Linked DNA regions of Homo sapiens: region 2 is linked to region 1. The links are contacts of gene promoters, found by promoter capture Hi-C in human tissues and cell types (Jung and others, 2019). All regions are on one chromosome and are shown on one strand. Each heading gives the region's core, a stretch centred on a gene start or on the middle of the fragment in contact. The rest is flanking DNA. Distances are from core to core; before and after follow the strand shown.

Region 1 (5,948 bases), core at 343-2,842:
CACGCAGTTGCAGTCAAACTATTGGCAGGGGCTGCTGTCATCTCAAGGTTTGACTGGGGCTGGGAGATGTGCTTCCAAGGGTGATACACTTGGTTATAGGAAGGCCCCAGCTACTCCCAGGCTATTGGGTGGAGGGCTTAGTTCCTTGCTACCTGGGCCTCTCCATAGGCTGTCTCGGTATCCTCATGACATGGCAACTAACTTCTCTCAAAGTGGGGGCAGCAGCCTTTAAGACAGAACTCAAGGTGCCATTTATTATATTTAATCTCAGCAGTGACATCTATCACTGCTACTGCATTCTATTAGTCTCACAGTCCAACCCTGGTACAATGTGGGAGGGAACTACATAAGAGTGTGAATAGTAGGAGGTAGGAATCATTGGGAAACATTTTGAGGTCAGTTATTGTATCAGTTGCTAGGATGACCAGTTGGAATTAGGATTTTTTTAAAAAGCCATTTTCATAAGACAAGGCAATCTTTTCTAGAGATGTTCCAATACCTGTGATATGCGGAGCACTGCGCTAGGTGGTATTCAAGGCAGGCCTGTAGTGAATGCTGTTGGACCCAGCCACCACCCCTGAGCAATCATATGCAGACCGCTGGCTTCTTAACTGCAGACACCTACAGACTCAGCCTAAGACTTTCCCACGAGGCAGGCTCGAAGTGCTGGAGCTTTAACACCTCTGGAGTGGCCCTAAAACAATTAGGAAGAGAGATGGTGTAGACATATGTAAGCTTCATCGGCCTGGTGGTTGTGAAAACTTGGAAGTGGTTTCTACACAATCCCCCAGAGGTCCCAAGCTGACTGAGCCCTCATTGATCCAGAGCTAATCTGCTCACCTATGCACTGTATATTCGTTCCCATCGCTCCCGTCTCACTTCTCCATCCCCCACCTACCAAATAAACTGCTTGCACTCATTCTTTCCTCAGGTCGGCTTCTCGGGCAAGCCTCCTTAGGTAAAAACCTTGCTTTCAACATTTCCTTTCCATTATGCGCTAAGAACTCTGATCTCTTCCCGCTGCGGCAGCCCCGCCCTTTCCTTGCGGCTCCGCCCTTTCCGTGAAGTCACGCCCGTCCTTAGGCTGTCTCTGTCTCCCTAAGAGCGAGTCTCTTCGCTGCTCTCTAACTCCTAGAGCTGGCTCAGAAAGAGTTTCACATTGCCATAGGGGAGCTCCTAGGAGAGGCTGCACCCATTGCACGTAAGAAGCGGTAAAAATGTACGCGGCCATCTTACCAGGCTGCCGGAGACAAAGAAAGCTCAGCTTTGATGTCTGGGCGCCACCATGTTGGCCACAGGAGGTTTTGGCATCTGAGATGCTGAGTTAAGAGCAGAGACGACATCTCTGTTTAGGGATCCAGGGACACTTCCTTCTCCTTGTCCTAAAATAGCCTTATCTTTTGGTCTAGCAAAGGGCTTAATCATCCGTTTTACGGCACAGTTTTAAACATGGCCGCCCCAGGTAGGAGTCAAGTGGGCGTCGCCATCATACCTCCAATTACAGCTTTGAGAAACCCAGAATCCTGTTCACTGGAAGGTTGCCGGGTGGCGGCTGACAGCCTCAAAGTCGCAATTGAGTCTGCGCACCGGCCATTCAGGATGGGACGACCTTATACCGCGGTGAGGCGGCGTGGCAGGACGACCAATTTCAGATTCAGGGCGCGGATGCAGCATAAATGGGAAGGCACGGTTTGAGAAACGGTCAAACCTGGGACTAGTGGAGGATAGTGAGCTGCCGACTACGGTGGCCGACTGGGTCAGCTATGGGTGCCCGTGAGGGTCAATGACAAGGGAACTGAAGGGTTAAGAGATTCGGCGTCTGAGCCTCGCGGGGCCTCAGTGGTGGCGGACAGAGGTTTGCGGGAGTCAGTGGCACGGTCTCTGAAGAAGATGGATTGGGAGTGTGTGGGAATCAATAAATGCGAGTTCTGTGAAATGTCTTGATTTTCAGGGTGCATGGGGTCAGTAATAGTGGTCTTCATGGGTCTGGGGTCAGTTGGGATTTTTCAGACACTGGTTTAGAGATCTTTAAGGTTAATGATCGGAGCCCGAGAGGATCAGTGATCGGAGGTTCTAAGTTCTGTGGGCAGTAATAGTTTGGGTACTGGAATTGGTGATTGTGGAAACTTTGGGGTTCAAATGAGGGAGGTCAGTGGTGATGAATGTTTGGAGAAATGTTTTGGGCCATCGGTGATTGAGACTTACTTCATATCATCGGTGGAGGATCGGAGAGTATTAACGATTGGACTTTTGTAGATCAGGGAATGGAGAATAGAGTCAAGTGTGCTTATCTTAAAGGTACGCCTCAATGAGGCTCAGTGATTCGGACTGTCACTTGTGGGTGGGAGTGGGACTGTGAGAATCAACAATTGATCCTCAGTCGTTGGGATATCATTGGCAATCAGTGTGGATTCATGATTGGGGGCTGTGTAATTTCACTGGCAATCAGATCGGATCGGTGTTCTTTGTAGTTACTGACCTGTAGTCTCTCCTGGTCAGATTTGAACATAGGGGAATATCAGTGACTATGAAAACCTCTGAGGGTTGGAGATTGGAGGCCAGTGATTGGGGGCACTATGCGTGTCTGATTAGGAGACTTATAGGGGTTGGTGTTGAGGGTCCTGAAATGTGGAGATTGGGGATGGGAAAATCACAGATTTGAGGCTGCAAGCCTGCATAGCGGGAACACATTTCACTCAGGTGACACTCCCTAGCTGAATAGCAGCCAGTTCCTCTCCACCAAGGCCCATCTGAAAACTCTTTTTTGAACCCACACCCTTTTTATTGTTCTCTACAATAATGAAAATAATTTGAAAGGATCGCGTGCTAAACTTATCTAAAGTAACATGTTACTAAAGACGTGGCTTCTATTCTTGTTAGGGATCTAATGCATATTTTTTCCTAATGTTTCCTTTAAGGCTCTTTCTGGCAAAGGTAATGACATACGCATCTGTGCCAGCATCCCAAGAGTGAGGCTGGTTTCTGGAAATCCATTCTGACTCTGTGACAGCGGGGATGGATGTGACCTTGCCCGTGGTTAGAAAACAAATTTACTGAGTAAGTATCTAAAATGATAATGTAGGCTGTGTGCAGTGGTTCATGCCTGTAATCCCAGCACTTTGGGAGGCTGAGGTGGGTGGATCATTTGAAGTCAGGAATTACTAGCCTGGTCAACATGGTGAAACCCTGCCTCTACTAAAAACACAAAAATTAGCCGGGCGTGGTGGCGGGCGCCTGAGGTCCCAGCTACTCTGGAGGCTGAGGCAGGAGAATCGTTTGAACCCAAGAGGTGGAGATTGCAGTGAAACGAGATTGTACCACTGCACTCCAGCCCGGGTGACAGAATGAGACTCTGTCTCAAGATAAATAAATAAATATAAATAAACAAAATAAAATAAAATGATAATGTAAAAGATTTGGCTGAAAGAGCAAACAGAGTGTTTAGAAAATACTTTTATCTAGGCTCAACTTAAATTATCAAAGGAAGAGAAACTAGATTTGGAATTTATTGTATTCTGAGAAACTTTTTGCCTTGTCCTATATATTTTAGGCATAGCCATTTTTAACCTCCACTAATCAATTCCTTATAAAGTCCTGGCAGAAAAAATTCAAGACAGATAAAGCCACAACCGCCACAAAACAAAATGTAAGCTACTTTTAGAAACTGTTCCTCACTGAAATTAAAATTGAACTAATAGTTATTAAAATGGCTGAGATGGGATTGCAAATAAAATGGAAATAAGATTTGAAAAAATAGATTTAGGGGATATAAGTGCAGTTTTGTTACATGGGTATATTTCACAGTGGGGAAGCCTGGGCTTTTAGTGTAACTATCACTTGAATAATGTACATTGTACCAATCTGATAATTTCTCATCCCTTACCCGCTTCCTACCCTCCCTCCATTCAGAGTCATCTGTGTCTATTATTCTGCTTTCTATATCCATGTGTACACATTATTATCTTATAAGTGAGAACATGCAGTATTTGACTTTCTATTTCTGAGTTAGAAAATAAGATTTTGACCATTAATGAAAAAGTGCAATGTCAAAACAATATTTTAATTTTAAAAAATTATTACGTTTGATCTTTATGTAACCTTCAGACAAAGCACAATGCCTGTAGCATCTTAAGAAATAAAGGCAGCTGGATGCTAAGGCAGGTAACATCTTTCAGAACCCACATAGGTCAAATTTTAGTTTTAAAAGCAGATAGTCCCTGTTTTTCACTTGCACAGAATCAAAGACAGATAGCTGCTTAGCATGGGTGAAATAATAAGCCAGGGTAAGGAGTTTGGGTAATTTTTTCTCCATGTTGATTCCCTTCACCACCTATACTGTGCTCAGTGCCAGGTTTCAGAGCAAATAATTAAAAAGAAATTTTACATAAACTTTTTATTGTGATATATATGCAAAAATGTATATAAATATGTAGCTCAATGAATTGTCACAAGGGAATACCCCTGGGTAATGCACTCAGATCAGAAAACAACATTCTAGCACCGTGCCCTCATGATGCCCCTCCCAGTCACTACTCTGCCAGAGGTTCCCTAGCTTCTAATCTTAGTATTGTCTGTTTTTGATCTCTAATTTAATGGGATATTCATTGGGGGGGAGGAGCACCATGGGGAGAGGCAAGATGTGGCTGTGTTTAAACAAAATTTCCAAGTTTGAATTGAGATAATTTCATTTATATAACAGATACTTTTCCAGGTCATTAAATATTCCTTGTTTGGCCAGGCACAGTGGCTTACACCTGTAATCTCAGTGCTTTGGAAGGCTGGGGTAGGAGGGTTGTTTGAGGCCAGGATCTTGAGACCAGCCTGCGCAACATAGCGAAACTCCATCATTACAAAAAATTTAAAAATAAGCTGGGTAGTCTGGGCATGTTGGCTGATGCCTGTAATCCCAGCACTTTGGGAGGCCGAGGCAGGTGGACCACTTGAGGTCAGGAGTTCAAGACCAGCCTGGCCAACATGGTGAAACTCCGTCTCTACTAAAACTACAAAAAAAAAAAAAAATTAGCTGGGCTTGGTGGTGGGCGCCTGTAATCCCAACTACTTGGGAGGCTGAGGCAGGAGAATTAGTTAAACCCAGGAGGCAGAGGTTACAGTGAGCCGAGATTGCACCACTGCATTCCAGCCTGGGCAACAAGAGTGAAACTCCATCTCAAAAAAAAAAAAAAAAAAATTAGCTGGGTGTGGTGGCTCACACTTGTGATCCTAGCTACTGGAAAGGCTGAAGTGAGAGGATTCCTTGAGCCCAGGAGTTCAAGGTTGCAGTGAGCTATGATTGTGCCACTGCACCCTAGCCTGGGTGACAGAGTGAGACCCTGTTTCAAAAAAAAAAATTCTTTTCTTTTTTTTTTTTGAGACAGGGTCTCACTCTATTGCCCAGGCTGGAGTGCAGTGGCACGATCTCGGCTTACTGCAACCCCTGCCTCCCAGGTTCACACCAGTCTCCTGCCTCAGCCTCCCGAGTAGCTGGGACTACAGGTGCCCATGACCACGCCCAGCTACTTTTTTGTATTTTTAGTAGAGACGGGGGTTTCACTGTGTTAGCCAGGATGGTCTCAATCTCCTGACCTCGTGATCCGCCCACCTCAGTCTCCCAAAGTGCTGGGATTACAGGCGTGAGCCACCACACCCGGCCAAAAAATTCTTTAAAAAAATTGAGGCATAATACACATGTAGTGAAGTGGGCTTATCTTTAAGGTGCAGCTCAATGAATTTTTATATTACAGAGTCCTGTAACCACAGCCTAGATCAAGATATTCATCACTTCTAACACCTGGAAGGTGTCCTTACTGGTCAATACCTACTGCCACCCTAGGGGTAACTAGTGTTTAATATAGTGGATTACTTTTGCATGCTTTTGAATTTGAATTGAATTATATATCTCCCCTGTGAATCCACTTGATTGACTCATATTCACTGAATTTGATAGGATT
Region 2 (6,706 bases), core at 3,469-5,968, 1.3 Mb before region 1:
GTTGTTTTCAGGCTTCTGCTATTGAAGACACAAGTGTGTATACTTGTTTATATTGCTTTGCAGAAATATGCAGAAACAACTACATAGCATTTACTTTTTAAGTGGAATACAGGGTCAAAGTTATGTTTATAAATTTAATTGAGATAAGCACATTGCTCTCAAAAGAAGTAAACCCATTTACGTTTCTACCAAGCTGATATATTCACATCCTACAAGTATTTATTGCATGATATGTATTAGGTACTATTTCAGATGCTAGGGAAATGTCAGCTATCAAAACAGTCAAAAATTTCTTCCTCCTAGGGACGGTGTTATAATGGGGAGACAGACAATGAGTAAATACTTAAAAAATGTATACTATCAGATAGTGATAAGTGCTATGGAAAAGAATAAAGTAAGGGAAAACCGGTATAGAGAGGGCTAGTTGGGGTTGTAATTTTAAATCAGCTTGGTGGGGAAAGGTCTCACTGAATGCCATTTGAAAAAAGATCTGAAGAGTGCGAGAGTGGGCGTGCAGCATTGGGTGGAAGATCATTAGCCAGAAGGAACAAAAGTGTTAAAAGCCCTAAGTCAGGAGAAGCTTGCTGTCCTGTTCAGAGAATAGTGATCAGGGCCGTGGGCTGGAAGAGAGAGGGCAAAAGGGAATAAGAGTAGCAGTGGTTAGGTAACAGGTCAAATCACAGGTTTCAACATTGATTCTGAGTGATTTGGGAGACCCAACAGAGGGCCAGCCTTCCTTCCTTTTCCTTTTCCTTTTTTTGAGACTGAGTCTTGCTCTGTCACCCAGGCTGGAGTACAGTGGTGCGATCTCGGCTCACTGCAACCTCCACTTTCCAGGTTCAAGCGATTCTCCTGCCTTAGCCTCCCAAGTAGCTGGGATTACAGGCACCTGCCACCACGCCGGCTAATTTTTGTATTTTTAGTAGAGTCGAGGTTTCACCATGTTGGCTAGGGCTTATATGTATATATATTTGCAGCATAGATATAATATACTGGCTTATTCCTAGGTTACCTCAAGAAGGATATACGTGACACGCGTAAACGTGACCACAACTGACTTTGGGAGGCCAAGGCAGGTGTATCACTTGAGGCCAGGAGTTCGAGACCAGCCTGACCAACATGGAGAAACCCTGTCTCTACTAAAAATACAAAAGTTCTTCTTTTTTTTGAGACATAGTTTCACTCTGTTGTCCAGGTTGGAGTGCGGTGGTGCCATCGTGGCTCACCGCAGCCTCTGCCTCCCGGGTTCAAGTGATTCTCCTGCCTCAGCCTCCTGAGTAGCTGGGACTACAGGTGCCCACCACCACACCCGGCTAATTTTTGTATTTTTTTGGTAACCAGTTTTCACCATGTTGGCCAGGCTGGTCTTAAACTCCTGACCTCAAGTGATCTGCCCGCCTCAGCCTCTCAAAGTGCTAGGATTACAGGCGGGAGCCACTACACCTGGACTCATTCTTAAGTTATAATTAACTATAATATCAATTCTTATTTTGGCATCTCCAGAGTTTCTGTCTTGCCTTACACAACTTTACCTGTTTATGGGACAGACAGCTGTCTAATTTCATTCTCATTGTGTCAGAATGCTACCCAAATTAAAATTTTCATCCTATTATTTTCAGATCCAGAGATTACCTCAGACCAGTTTCATGTTATTTCTGGATTATTTCTTTTCCCATGGTCTTTGTAATAGGATCAGTCAAGCCTTAAAAAGACACACTAAGCTCTCTTTAATAGAGAACAAAGGGCCAGGCACGGTGGCTCACATCTGTAGGCGAGGCGGCAGATCTCTTGAGCCTAGGAGTTCTAGACCAGCCTGGGCAGCGTGTTGAGACCCCGTATCTTTTTTATTTAAAAAAAAAAAGGCCAGACTCGGTGGTTCACCCCTGTAATCCCAACACTTTGGGAGGCCGAGGCAGGCAGATCACCTGAGGTCAAGAGTTTGAGACTGGCCTGGCCAACATGGTAAAACCCCGTTTCTATTAAAAATACAAAAACTAGCTGGGCGTGGTGATGCACACCTATCGTCCCAGCTACTCGGGAGGCTGAGGCAGGAGAATCGGTTGAACCTGGGAGGCGGAGGTTGCAGTGAGCTGAGACTGCACTCCGGCCTGGGCAACAGAGCGAGACTCCATCTCAAAAAAAAAAAAAAAAAACATACAAATTATGTGACTACAAATATGAACATATTTCTTTCTCTTTATAAAATTTTTGAATCTTGGCCTTTGATTATGAAATATTCTACTTATGTAGGTACTACTTATATAAACTTGAATTCAGTTTTCATTAAAATGTTTGTTACTTCTGCCTTTTTTCCTCTTCCCTCTGCTTGTCCATTACTTCATATTTTCCAGAGGAACTTACAAGTTCTCAGCAAATGATACCTTAAACATGGTTTTAGATTTTGCCGTCTATAGTCTGCATTATAATCCGGTTAAAAGGAAGGTCCATGTTTTATTTTTCTGATCAGTAGTTTGAGAACGCATGAGTTGCTGTTAAATAATCTATGAATTTTTTGTGTGGAAATACTGATCAGTTCTTTTTTCTTTTTTCTTTTTTTTTTTTTTCCCGAGACATAGTCTCCCTCTGTCACCCAGGCTGGAGTGCAGTGGTGCGATCTGGGCTCACTACAACCTCCACCTCCCGGTTTCAAGTGATTCTCCTGTCTCAGCCTCTTGAGTAGCTGGGATTATAGGAGCATGCCACCACATCCAGCTAATTTTTTGTATTTTTAGTAGAGACGAGGTTTCACCATGTTGGCCAGGCTTGTCTTAAACTCTTGGCCCCACAGTGCTGGGATTACAGGTGTGAGTCACCATGCCCAGCCATTCAATTATTTTTTCATATGAACATTTTTTAAATATAACAAATGCTGAAGGAATAGTTAAAGAATCTCTTATGTACCCCCCATGTGGATTGAATAATTAATATTTTGCCACGCTTTTGTATGTCCGTATCCATGTGTTTATTTTGTGTGCTGAGGCATCATGATGTTTTACTTCTAAAAAATTAAATATGTATTTTCTACCAAGAAAAGCAGCTCCTGGCCAGGCGTGGTGGCTCACGCCTGTAGTGCCAGCACTTGGGAGGCAGATACGGGCAGATCACCAGATGTCAGGAGTTCCAGACCAGCCTGGCCAACATAGTGAAATCCTGTCTCTACTAAAAATACAAAAATTAGGCGTGGTGATGCATGCCTGTAATCCCAGCTACTTGGGAGGTTGAGGCTTCAAGAATCACTTGAAGCCAGGAGGCCGAGGTTGCAGTGAGTCGAGATCGCACCACTGCACACCAGCCTGAAGGGGTGGGTTTCCCCTCCACAGCTGTGGGCGTTTCTCGTCAGGTGGAAGGACTGACTTGGAAAAGAAAGAGACACAGAAACAAAGTATAGAGAAAGAAAAATGGGCCCAGGGGACCGGCGTTAGGGAGGACCTGCATACGGAGGACCTCTCAAGAGGACCGGCCTCTTGAGTTCCCTTAGTATTTATTGATCATTATCGGGCGTTTCTCGGAGAGGGGGATGTGGCAGGACAATAGGGTAATAGTGGAGAGAAGGTCAGCAGGAAAACGTGAACAAATGTCTCTGCATCATAAACAAGGTAAAGAAAAAAGTGCTGTGCTTTTGATGTGCATATACATAAACATCTCAATGCCTTAAAGAGCAGTGTTGCTGCCAGCATGTCCCACCTCCAGCCCTAAGGCGGTTTTCCCCTATCTCAGTAGATGGAATATACAATCCAGCTTTACACGGAGACATTCCATTGCCCAGGGAAGAGCAGGAGACAGATGCCTTCCTCTTATCTCAACTGCAAAGAGGTCTTCCTTTTTTACTAATCCTCCTCAGCACAGACCCTTTACGGGTGTCGGACTGGGGGACGGTCAGGTCTTTCCCTTCCCGCGGGGCCATATTTCAGACTATCACATGGGGAGAAACCTTGGACAATACCTGGCTTTCCTAGGCAGAGGTCCCTGCGGCCTTCTGTAGTGTGTTGTGTCTCTGGGTACTTGAGATTAGGGAGTGGTGATGACTCTTAAGGAGCATGCTGCCTTCAAGCATTTGTTTAACAAAGCACATCCTGCACAGCCCTTAATCCATTTAACGCTGAGTTGACACAGCACATGTTTCAGTGAGCACAGGGTTGGGGGTAGGGTTACAGATTAACAGCATCTCAAGGCAGAATAATTTTTCTTAGTACAGAACAAAATGGAGTCTCTTATGTCTACTTCTTTCTACACAGACACAGTAACAGTCTGATCTCTCTTTCTTTTCCCCACACAGCCTGGGCGACAGAGCAAGACTGTCTCAAAAAAAAAGGGAGCTCTCCCATATAACAAAATACCGTTTCACACCTTAGAAGATTAACCATGTTGTCCTAATATTAGACTACCCAGTCTATGTTCACATTTTTCCAATTGTCCCCAGAATGCCTTCCATAGTTTTTTAAAATTACAGAATGTAATCAGGGTTCAAGCTTTGCATCTGGTTGCTCGCCACCACGCCCGGCTAATTTTTTGTATTTTTAGTAGAGATGGGGTTTCACTGTGTTAGCCAGGATGGTCTTGATCTCCTGACCTCGTGATCCGCCCACCTCGGCCTCCCAACGTGCTGGGATTACAGGCGTGAGCCACTGCGCCCGGCCAGCCAGCATCTTTTGTCTTCAGCTGCAGAATGGTGCTGCAGGTCTTACCATATATGTGGGTTTAATCTCTGATTTCCGTATAGCAGCTCATTCCTGTCATCTCATTTGCTGAATGCCCCTGAGCTCTGATTAAAATTCTGCAGGGGATAAACTTCCATTTCATATGAAGGTGTGTCCAGTCCTTTGTTCTCGTGACTGGACAGTGCATGTTCAACTGTTCCTTACACTTTTTTTTCAGCCACCATCCTTTATTCCTTTTGAATAAGGGAATTTGTACCATTTTCTCCTTATAATTTTAATGGGGTTTTGGGAGGAAGCACTTGTTGGTTGATCTATTCCTTTTCTTAGAAAGATGAGCATTATTTAGCCAGGTATGGTGGTGCACACCTGTAATCCCAGTTACTCAGGAGGCTGAGGCTAGAGAATTGCTTGAACCCAGGAGGCGGAGGCTGCAGTGAGCCGAGATCGCACCACTGCACTCCAGCCTGGATAACGAGCGAAATTCCGTCTCAAAAAAAAAAAAAGAAGAAAGAAAGATGAACATTATTTTTCTTCCTTAGCATCCCAGGTAGACTTTCTAATTTTCATCTTTTTCTTCTATTTGGCAATTCTTCATTATTTGTTATACAACTTGCTAAATTCTGAAATGGAAAGGTTATTTTTCAAGAGTACTTTCAGCTTTGTGGACCCATGAATGTTAATTTTCTACCTAGATCACCTCAAGTAGGGTTCCCTTCTCATAATTTAGTTGGAAGCATTAATAATATAGATTATTTTCATATTGGGAGATGGGCTACCAGAGTTAATCTCAAAAAATTTTATTGCTAGTAATGGGAAAATTAACAAATAAAAGTGATAGTAATATAAAGGTAAAATGAAGGGCTTACCATATGGCAGCCATGGTTCTGGGCACTTTATGAATTTAACTCCTTTGTGCTATGGTTCTTTGTACTCCATTTTAGAAGAAGCCTGAGAAGATGATGCACAGATAGAGAGGCACCAGGACTTGAGAGGCACCAGGACTTGGGAGGCATGTTGATCCATCTCCAGGAAAGACTGAGAAAAAGAGCGTTGAATATAAGAAAAAATACTTCCTCTGTTCTCAGATCGTATTTGTTTTAAGGCCACACCTTTTTGAAGTTTTCAGTTTGAAACACAACCTGGACTGAAATCATGAGGGAGGTTGTGTAGGAAAGAATCATCAAGGGACTTAGTTGGGAGCTTCTCTACCACAGCTTACTCCTTATGGTATTAACCCCCTTTAAGTGTAAATGTCTTTGGTTTAAAACGTTTGTACCTCATCTGTTACCAGAGTGTTCATACTGGAGAGAAACCCTATGAATTTACTGAATGTGGGGGAACTGTTACTCATATGTTGCATTTCGTCGAACGTGCAAGTCATGCTGAAGAGAAACCCTGTGCTTCTAAGGAGTATTGACAAGCCCTTAGCTAGATGACAATCTCATTGAGAAGCAGAAAATTCATGCTGGAGAGAAACTAGTGAAGGTAGCAATACTTCATTGAATATTAGAAAATTTTTCTAGAGAGAAAGCATTGAATATACTGAGTATGATAACATTTCCTCTCAAACCTTATCCCTTACTCTGCATTTGGGAGATCATACACAGAGAAGCCTTATAAATGTAAGAGATGTGGAAATATCTTCAGCCAAAAGTAAATCCTCACTCATCAAGAAATTTTTACTGGAGAGAAACCTTGTGAATGTGGGAAAGCTTCCATTCAGATGTCACACCTCAGCCAGCAGAGAATTTACAGTGGGGAAAACCCCTTTGCCTGTAAGGTATGTGGAAAAGTCTTCAGCCACAAATCAAACCTCACTGAGCATGAGCATTTTCACACGAGAGAGAAACCTTTTGAATGTAACGAGTGTGGAAAAGCCTTTAGCCAAAAGCAGTATGTCATTAAACATCAGAACACCCATACTGGCGAGAAGCTTTTCGAATGTAATGAATGTGGAAAATCATTTAGCCAGAAGGAAAACCTCCTTACGCACCAGAAAATTCACACTGGAGAAAAACCTTTTGAGTGTAAAGATTGCGGGAAAGCTT

Evidence for each region. The method cuts DNA at HindIII sites, captures the fragments that hold promoters and counts their contacts. A contact is called where the count stands out against the background at its distance.
Region 2: a fragment that was not itself captured here is called in contact with the fragment with the promoter of ZNF793 in region 1 in 1 of the 25 tissues and cell types used here (lymphoblastoid cells).

Annotation. Positions count from the first base shown.
Region 1 is chr19:37,505,347-37,511,294 of GRCh38, forward strand. ZNF793 (zinc finger protein 793) reads left to right here and starts at 1,593. Exons shown (of 8, transcript NM_001013659.3): 1 at 1,593-1,620; 2 at 2,919-3,057. ZNF793-AS1 (ZNF793 antisense RNA 1) reads right to left here and starts at 1,741. Exons shown (of 3, transcript NR_110723.1): 1 at 1,493-1,741; 2 at 500-694. RefSeq lists enhancers at 511-1,302, 1,303-2,094, 1,660-1,809. The HindIII fragment of the contact is 9,018 bases long and covers 323-5,948 here.
Region 2 is chr19:36,230,060-36,236,765 of GRCh38, forward strand. ZNF146 (zinc finger protein 146) reads left to right here. Exons shown (of 4, transcript NM_007145.3): 4 at 5,600-6,706. The coding sequence starts at 6,382. LOC107985304 (a long non-coding RNA gene) reads right to left here and starts at 5,693. Exons shown (of 2, transcript XR_001753933.3): 1 at 5,525-5,693. It also overlaps a transcript of ZNF565 not described here. RefSeq lists enhancers at 3,513-4,015, 4,016-4,517 and a silencer at 6,315-6,515. The HindIII fragment of the contact is 4,389 bases long and covers 2,525-6,706 here.